3 separate regions of the Homo sapiens genome follow, and all the other regions are linked to region 2. Evidence: promoter capture Hi-C in 16 types of primary human blood cells and fetal thymus (Javierre and others, 2016). All regions are on one chromosome and are shown on one strand. Each heading gives the region's core, a stretch centred on a gene start or on the middle of the fragment in contact. The rest is flanking DNA. Distances are from core to core; before and after follow the strand shown. Region 1 overlaps LOC105374903 (a long non-coding RNA gene). Region 2 holds the start of RREB1 (ras responsive element binding protein 1). Region 3 has its middle 30 kb from the start of LINC03055.

Evidence for each region. The method cuts DNA at HindIII sites, captures the fragments that hold promoters and counts their contacts. A CHiCAGO score of 5 or more calls a contact.
Region 1: a contact is called between a fragment that was not itself captured here and the fragment with the promoter of RREB1 in region 2, in 1 of 17 cell types (M0 macrophages). The highest score is 5.1, in M0 macrophages.
Region 3: a contact is called between a fragment that was not itself captured here and the fragment with the promoter of RREB1 in region 2, in 1 of 17 cell types (M2 macrophages). The highest score is 5.5, in M2 macrophages.

Annotation. Positions count from the first base shown.
Region 1 is chr6:6,875,333-6,878,095 of GRCh38, reverse strand. The region is part of intron 1 of LOC105374903 (a long non-coding RNA gene); the gene reads left to right. Among named protein-coding and RNA genes, the nearest start is that of LINC03055, 9.0 kb to the left of the region's middle. The HindIII fragment of the contact is 4,195 bases long and covers 1-2,763 here.
Region 2 is chr6:7,106,697-7,109,448 of GRCh38, reverse strand. RREB1 (ras responsive element binding protein 1) reads right to left here and starts at 1,488. Exons shown (of 13, transcript NM_001003699.4): 1 at 1,389-1,488. RefSeq lists silencers at 120-209, 230-719, 1,510-1,729, 1,790-2,269 and an enhancer at 2,620-2,679. The HindIII fragment of the contact is 7,744 bases long and covers 1-2,752 here.
Region 3 is chr6:6,853,945-6,856,644 of GRCh38, reverse strand. No RefSeq gene overlaps it. Among named protein-coding and RNA genes, the nearest start is that of LINC03055, 30 kb to the left of the region's middle. The HindIII fragment of the contact is 4,005 bases long and covers 1-2,700 here.

The sequences.
Region 1 (2,763 bases), core at 110-2,609, 230 kb after region 2:
ATGAGTGAGAACATGCAGTGTTTGGTTTCCTGTCCTTGTGATAGTTTGCTCAGAATGATGGTTTCCAGCTTCATCCATGTTCCTGCAAAGGACATGAACTCATCCTTTTTTATGGCTGCATAGTATTCCGTGGTGTATATGTGCCACATTTTCTTTATCCAATCTATCATTGATGGACATTTGGGTTGGTTCCAAGTCTTTGCTATTGTGAATAGTGCTGCAATAAACATACGTGTGCATGTGTCTTTATAGCAGCATGATTTATAATCCTTTGGGTATATACCCACTAATGGGATCGCTGGGTCAAATGGTGTTTCTAGTTCTAGATCCTTGAGAAATCACCACACTGTCTTCCACAATGGTTGAATTAATTTACACTCCCACCAACAATGTAAAAGTGTTCCTTTTTCTCCACATCCTCTCCAGCATCTGTTGTTTCCTGACTTTTTAATGATCGCCATTCTAACTGGTGTGAGATGGTATCTCATTGTGGTTTTGATTTGCATTTCTCTGATAACCAGTGATGATGAGCATTTTTTCAAGAAATCACATGAATCTTTAATCTGGGGCTTTAGCTAATGTATCTTGAAAATTTTAGAAGTTGTGAAAAAAATTGAGTTATGGTAAAAATGACCAGCATTAGTAAATATCAGGCTTTATTTGAATGTGCTTTTCTTTGCAGCTAATGACACCTCCTAAGGATGAGTTTTAAGAAGAGCTGCAAAGAATTTTTTATATTTAAAAAAGTGAGGAAAGAGTCTTTTTTAGCATTCAATAATTCTTACAAAAGTTTCCCTTAATTTGCTATCATAATACTAACCCTAGTGAGTGATAAGTTTTCTTTCTTCCTCCCTTCCTTTCTCTCTCTCTGTCTCTGTCTGTATCACACAAACACACACAGACACACACACACACACGCAATTAGGAAGAATAAGAGGTGACTTTGTGGATGAAAAGCTGTTTTTCACTTCCCTCTACCATATAACTGAATTTAGACTATTCCCAAATACCCAAATTTTAATAATGGGTGTTCCTTTAACAAATAAACAAGCAAATATATAATGCCAGGGAAATCTCCAGAACACTCTGAGTTGATGGCGCTGTTATCATCAAAGGGGGCTTCCCTTTTGTTTGCTGCCCTGGAGTTTCCCCATCATGGAATGATGAATTGGAATCAGACATGGGAGAGCAGAAAGGGGGCCTCTCTTGTCTAAAGTGGGAGACAGGCTATCATGAAGGAACTCTGGGGCACCTTCTCAGTCCAACCGCCTTAAGAAAGAGTGCACGTGGAAGATGAGAATCTGCAAGTTGATTCTCTTAAGACTAGCCAAGCTGTGCCTCCCGGAAAGTCTTCAAGAACCCAAAGTTAGGGGGTGCCCAGTGAGTTGGAAGATTATAAGAGTAAAGAAGAATCATGAAGAGGGAAGGCATTTCTCTCTTTTTTTTTTCTTTTTCTCATTTTCCCTTTTTAAGATAAAAAAAGTTCTTAAAATTTACATATATCCTCGGGACTTTTCTTTTAATAGAGATGAGGACTGATTATGTTGCCCAGGCCAGCCTCAAGCGATCCTTCTGCCTTGGACTCCCAGAGTGCTGGGATTACAGGCGTGAGCCACTGTTCCTGGCCTTGGCTGGCATTTCTTAATTAAGGGGAGAGCCTCACCCATGATCACAACTCACCTATATGCAGCAGAATTGGAGAAAACTGTTCAGCAGCTCCCAGAAACTTCCCTGGGGCTTGTGTACTGAGGGGCCATAGAAATTGCTTTCTATAGATTGTAAGCTCTTTGAGGGCAGGTACTTTGTCATATCCTTCTTTCCTATTTCCCCCGAGGGCCCAGGAGTGTGCCAGGCACGTGGGAGTCCTGCACAAACACACAGCAAAAGGCCTTTTCTATTTCATGGAAGTGAAGGACTTGAAGAGTCCTCTAGAGTTCTTCCAGTTCACTCTCTCGTGCACTATGAATGAAATCCAAACCCTTAAAGACAGCTGAGAATTCATCAGAGTTTTAACGAGCAAGAGAAGGATTCCAATAATACCACTTGTTGCCTCATTTCAGAGTCTACCAGACTACAGTTCAGAGATGCTTCCTTATGAGTCACTTAAGTGCCTGTGTGATTTCACTGTAGACTGAGGAGGCTGGTCCCATCACCAGCGCCCTTGACCTCCACAGGTCAGTTATAGCTTTCTTCCCCTCTTCCTTCCTCAGGCTGGTAAATCTTAGTTATTTTTATATCTCAGAAGGGTAGCATATTTTTGGGAGGTGTTCTCATTTACCTTCTCTTATTATGAGCTGGGAGAATTCAAGTTTAAGAGGGAAAAGATTTAAAAAAACTATCATAATAATATAATAATGATAAAGGCCAGGCACAGTAGCTCATTCCTGTAATCCCAGCATTTTGTGAGGCTGAGGAGGGAGGATTCCTTGAGGCCAAGAGTTCAAAGATAGCCTAGGCAACATAGCGAGACCTTGTCTCTATTTAAAAAAAAGTTTTAAAATTAAAAAAAAAAAAAGGAAAAGATGGTTACACCTCTTTCTTTCTTTCCTTTCTTTCTCTCTCTCTCTCTCTTTTTTTTTTTTTTTTTTGAGATGGAGTCTTGCTGTGTTGCCAGGCTGGAGTGCAGTGGTGCAATCTTGGCTCACTGCAACCTCTGCTTCCCAGGTTCAAGCCATTCTCCTGACTCAGCCTCCCAAGTAGCTAGGATTACAGAAGTGCACCACCACACTCAGCTAATTTTTGTATTATTGGTAGAGACAGGGT
Region 2 (2,752 bases), core at 239-2,738:
AGCAGGTCACATCCTCGACGCGCCCTTGGCCCGGTCCAGAAAACACGCCGCTTCCCAGGGAGGGGGTCGGCGACGGGAAGGACCTCCCCTGCTCCTTAGCAACCATTAAGGTCGCAGTTTCCTAAGAGACCGCGAGCGGGGAGGGGGCGCGGGGGGCCCGGCCCAAGGCTTGTGCGGGAAGTTGGGGGCGGGGGGGGCAGCAACAGGCCCCCTCCCCCCACCCAGCTAGACGCCGGGGGCCGGGATGGGAGGAGGAAGGGAAGCCCCAGAACTCGTGAAAAACTGGTCCAGCGGGCGGCGGACAAAAGTTTCCGAGCGCGCTCCACAGCTGGGCGGCGGAGCGGGCCCCGGCGGCCGGCCCCGCCTCGGATGCTCCCGGCCTCCTTCCTGTGCTCGTGACGGCGCCGAGCCCCCCACCCCCCCCGCCCGCGAGGCAGGCTAGCTCCACACCGAGGGCTCCCACGAAAACACTCACCCCGCCAACGGAAGGGCGAGGGAACAATACGTGCCCGCACGGCTAGGGCCCGGTCCCCTCCTCCCCAGGCCCCCCGGGGCGGTGGTCGGCGTGACCACGACCGCCAGCCGGGAACCCGCGAGGGCGCGGGGCTGCCCGCGGCCCCCTCCCGGCCGGCGCCGTCCGCCCGGGAGGTTCAAAGTCCGCAGAGCAGGGCGCGGCGGATGCTCCCACCGAGCAGCCCCGAGCAGGCACCCCCGCGCGAGCACCCCGGGCAGGCACCCCCGGATACCTTAGGGCGGCGGCGGGAGGGCGGGCGCCGTCATCTCCGCGCTTCCCGGCCCGAGAAGGACTCGAAAGTATGTAGGAGAAAAGTTTCCCCTCCCACATGGGGGGGAGGATGTCGAGGGAGAGAGGGCGGAAGATGGAGAGCAGCGCTGGGAAGATGTTTCTGGCCGGCGGTGCGCGCACCATCCGAGTCCCGGCGGTGCTGGTTAAAAATAAACTCGGCGGCGCGGGTCGGGCCGGATTCCTGCGCTCGGACGGCTAATATGGATGCGCATCAGGTCCTGCTGGCGGGGCGCTGCGGCGGCTCGCGCTGGGAGCTGGTTGGCAGAGCCGGCGGCTCGGGAAAGGGAAAAGAGCGGAGGAAGGGGAGGAGGAGGAGGAGGAGGAGGAATGGCCCGGCGCGCAGCCCGAGGGGAGAGGGCTGCCCCGCTCATCCCTGGCCGCCCCGCCGGCCCGAGCGCACGCTGCGCGGAGTGGGGCGTGCGGGTCCCCGGCTCCGGGACACACCGAGTTTCAAAAGTACAACGCGCTCTGCAGACTTCACCCTCCCCATCCCCAAAGTTCTTTAAAAGGTCGCTCCGGCTGTGCCCCAGACTTCTCGCTGCCGCCGGCGTACCGCGAGTCGGAATCCGGGGCACGTACTTACGGCCGGGCAGGACGCTTGGCTCCCTGGCATGATGCGTTGGGGACCGGTGGGCTTCAGGGAGAGACCGAGGAGAGATGCAAACTTGTTCCGGAAAAGGAATCAAAATGGCGTTTCTGGATGTGCAAAGTTCATCAACTCCGCAGTCACTTCCCCTCCTCCTCTTCTCCCACAGGGAGGGAGGTGGGCGAGGAGCTGGCGACCCCGGCGCCCCAGCCGTCGTCCCGGCCCCCGTCTCGGCCCCCCGCCCAGCTTCCTCGCCCGCACGCTCGGAGTCTCGCTCTCCCCCTCTCACCCTGATAAGTAGACACATCACGTGTTGCTCCTGCGAGTCTCCTGGGGACGTGTTACTGAGCGGCCGCGGCGGCGGCGGCGGCGGCGGCGGCGGCGCTCGGACTGGGGGGGGTGAGGGGGAGGACCGCCGCCCCCGCCCCGACTTTAGCAGGGTGACCGCAGTTGCCATCCCGGGATGGATGGAGGTGGAGTCCCCTCCCCACCCCCCACCGCAGCCCCAGGTTTGCCCTACGCCCTCCCAAGGCGCCCCGGGCCATGGGAGGGCCGGGCTGCCCGAGGGGAAGGGTCCGGGAGGCCGCGACTGGCTGCGATCCCAATCGTCCCGTTGCTCGCGGGCCACCTTATTCGGCCACCGCGCCCCCTCCCCTGCAGCCCCTCGCCGCGGGCGACTCCCCGCCCCCGGCTTTCCATCACTTCACTCCGCAGTTTCACTATTTTAACGGAGGCGGGGGAGACACGGTGATGCCTCGGAATTGCGAGAGGGGCACCTCAGAGGCGCTGGAGTTGGGGGGATGGGGGGCGTAGGGCTCGGGGCCCTGGCCTGACGCCGCCCCTCTGGGTCTCCGAGGCATCTGCGAGGGGGAGCCCCGCCCGCGCCGTTTCCTTTCCACGCGGTCCTCGCTCTGCATCCAGGTGGGGCGAGTGGATGATGGGGCAGGAGATTAAGGAGCAGGCGCTTCACCCCGCCCCTAGCTTCGAGCCGTTTCTCTCCCGGGGCCATCCTTCTTACTCGGGCTGCCGCCCTGAGTGTGCTCGCCGTCTAACAAACTCAACTCCGACCCGACTTTGGTCCCCCTCCCTTACCCACACCCCACAAAGGATGCTTCAGCGGGGAACTGCCGTGGCCGCCAGGGGCTGAGGACGGTTCCTGCCGCCACTGTGTCCCCACCCCGCGATGGAATGGCTGATGCTGTGTCATCCACGTCGCCCTCCAAGGCTTCAGAGAAGCCACACGCAGTATCTCTTTCTCTCAGAGGGCTCCTGTTTCAACTCTGAAAAGCAGGGGCCCTTCTCCGAGCCGCTCTCCATCTCTCCAGCTCCTGCCACCACGCTTCGCACTGGCTGCCTTGCCC
Region 3 (2,700 bases), core at 180-2,679, 250 kb after region 2:
TGACCTACAGCTCTCAGCATGCTCACTCTAAGAGCTCTGCCAGCTTACAGCCCTCACGTCCTCATGGTGCCAGCAGCCTCCAAACCTGGTCCTGCGACACAGGATCTCTGTTGGTTCCTCATCCTGGGATGCTTTTCCCAGACCCTCCATGTCTAGCTCCTTCCTCCCATTATCTGACAGCTCTGTGGAATGCAACCCCACCCACCCATCATCACTATCTCCCATTCTGCCTTAGTTTCTTCCTTCGTTCTTCCTTTTCTTTTTGACAAGGTCTTGCTCTGTTGCCCAGGCTGGAGTTCAATAGTGCAATCATGGCTCACTGCAGCCTCAACCTCCTTGATCCTTGATCCTCCCATCTCAGCCTCCCAGGTAGCTGGGACCACAGGTGTAAGCCACCAAACCTGGCTAATTTTTGTTGTTGTTGTTTGCGTTTTTGAGAAAGGGTCTCACTCTGTTGCTCCCTGGGTTCAAGTGATTCTCCCATCTGAGCCTCCCGAGTATCTGGGACTATAGGCACGTGCCACTACGCCCGGCTAATTTTTGTTTTTGTTTTTGCTTTTGTTTTTGTTTGAGACTGAGTCTCACTCTGTTGCCCAGGCTGGAGTGTAGTGGTGCAATCTCCACTCACCGCAACCTCCACCTCCTGGGTTCAAGCGATTCTCCTGCCTCAGTCTCCCAAGTAGCTGGGATTACAGGCGCATGCCACTATGCCCGGCTAATTTTTGTATTTTTAGTAGAGATGGGGTTTTGCCATGTTGGCCAGGCTGGTCTTGAACTCCTGACCTCAGGTGATCCACCCACCTCAGCCTCCCAAAGTGCTAGGATTACAGGCATGAGCCACTGCACCCAGCCAGACTTGCTAATTTTTGTATTTTTTTTGTAGAGACGGAGTTTCACTATGTTGCCCAGGCTGGTCTTGAACTTCTGGGCCAAGTGATCTGCCAAAGTGCTGGGATTACATGTGTGAACCACCATGACTGGCCTGCCTTAGTTTTCTTAGTAGTATTTATCCCTGCCTAAAATTCTCTTCGATGACTATTGTCTTACACATGCATTTGTTTACTGATTTCTCTCCTTCCCTAGAACGTACAAGTTCCATGGAAGCAGAGACTTAGTTGGCTTGTTCACCACTCTATCTCCAATGCCTAGATGGTGGCTGGCACTCATGAGGAGCTCAATAAATATATGTTGAATGAATGGATGGAAAATGGTTGGATTTGGAGTTTATAGAATATCTCACTAAATTCTGGTCCTGAGGTCTTTTTTCTCCCACTCCCTCAGTAGAGGCACAGGCTTTTGAGATGGCCAGCAGGCTGCAAATGTGACTCCTTAGTCTCTAAGATTTGTTAGGGTGTCAATGATGGAAATCTAATGATACTTCCTGGCTCTAGTAGAAGTCCTTCAGGACGTCAGAAAATAGATTTAGGGAAAAGTTGCTATTGAATATTAGCCTGGGAGTAATAAACATTCATTGGTAATTTTCTTACAGTACAGATACTATTTTTTTTTTTTGAGACAGAGTCTCACTCTTGATCAGGCTGGAGTGCAGTGGCATGATCGCGGCTCACTGCAACCTCCGCTTGCTGGGTTCAAGTGATTCTCCTGTGCCTCAGCCTCCCCAGTAGCTGGGATTACAGGTCTGTGCTACCAAGCCTGGTTAATTTTTTGTATTTTTAGTAGAGACAGGTTTCGCCTTGTTGGCCAGGCTGGTCTCGAACTCCTGACCTCAGGTGATCAGCCCCCCTCAGCCTTCCAAAGTGTTGGGATTACAGGCATGAGCCACCGCGCCCAGCTCAGATACTACTTTAAAAGGTTTCTACACATTCTTTAAAGGTCAGACAGTAGTATAGGATGGGTTCATTTTAAGTTGTTTGTCAGAAAGTACTGAGTGATTTCAGTAGTGCAGAACCATTGAAGAAAGCAATGGTTTTGGGCAGGTGAGTTTTCCAGTTTAATAAAGCATCAGACTTCTTAACCCTAAAATCAAAATGCAAAGATGAAAGTCTTTTTGACAGAAGAATTCTTATGGAGTAAAATGTTTATATGTACCTACCCTATTATGCTGACTTTCCTGGAGAGTGGTCTGCAGAGAGAGGAAGGGTCTCTGTTTGAAGCCAGAACTAAGGACATGATTCCAGAGACTCTCACATCTATTTCTGATTTTGACTCTGACATGCTTTTGTGAGACCTCCTTTTGTTTTTCTCTTCCTTCCTTCCACTTTTCCTCACTGCTGACATGGAAATTTTAAAAGTTCCTTCTCTCCACCTGCTGCTTTGAGGTCCCAAAGGGAAATTCAAACAAACTTCTCCTATCCTATTTGCAGTTTCTGCCCCAGACAGATGTTCGTTTAAACAATCAAATACTCTGATGGACCTGCAGGACTGTCCCGTAGGAAGGGCCGCCGAGGATCTTACTTCCCAGTTCTGTGCTTAGGAATTTGGTGCCTGAGAGGCCAAAACCTGAGAGGGAGGTCAGGAGTGAGTTTTTCCATCCCTTCATCACCATGGACACCTGCCTGCAACCTGATGGGTTGGCCCAGCTCTCCTGACAGATCAAGATTTTGAATTGAAGGAGAAAGATCCAAGAAAACAACATGCTCTTCTGTACAGAGGCAAAATCATCTTTTGGAAACACCTCTATGTTAGTCAGTTAGCCCTGGGCTCTAATTCCAGCTCTGTCCTCATTAGCTTTCACCTTGG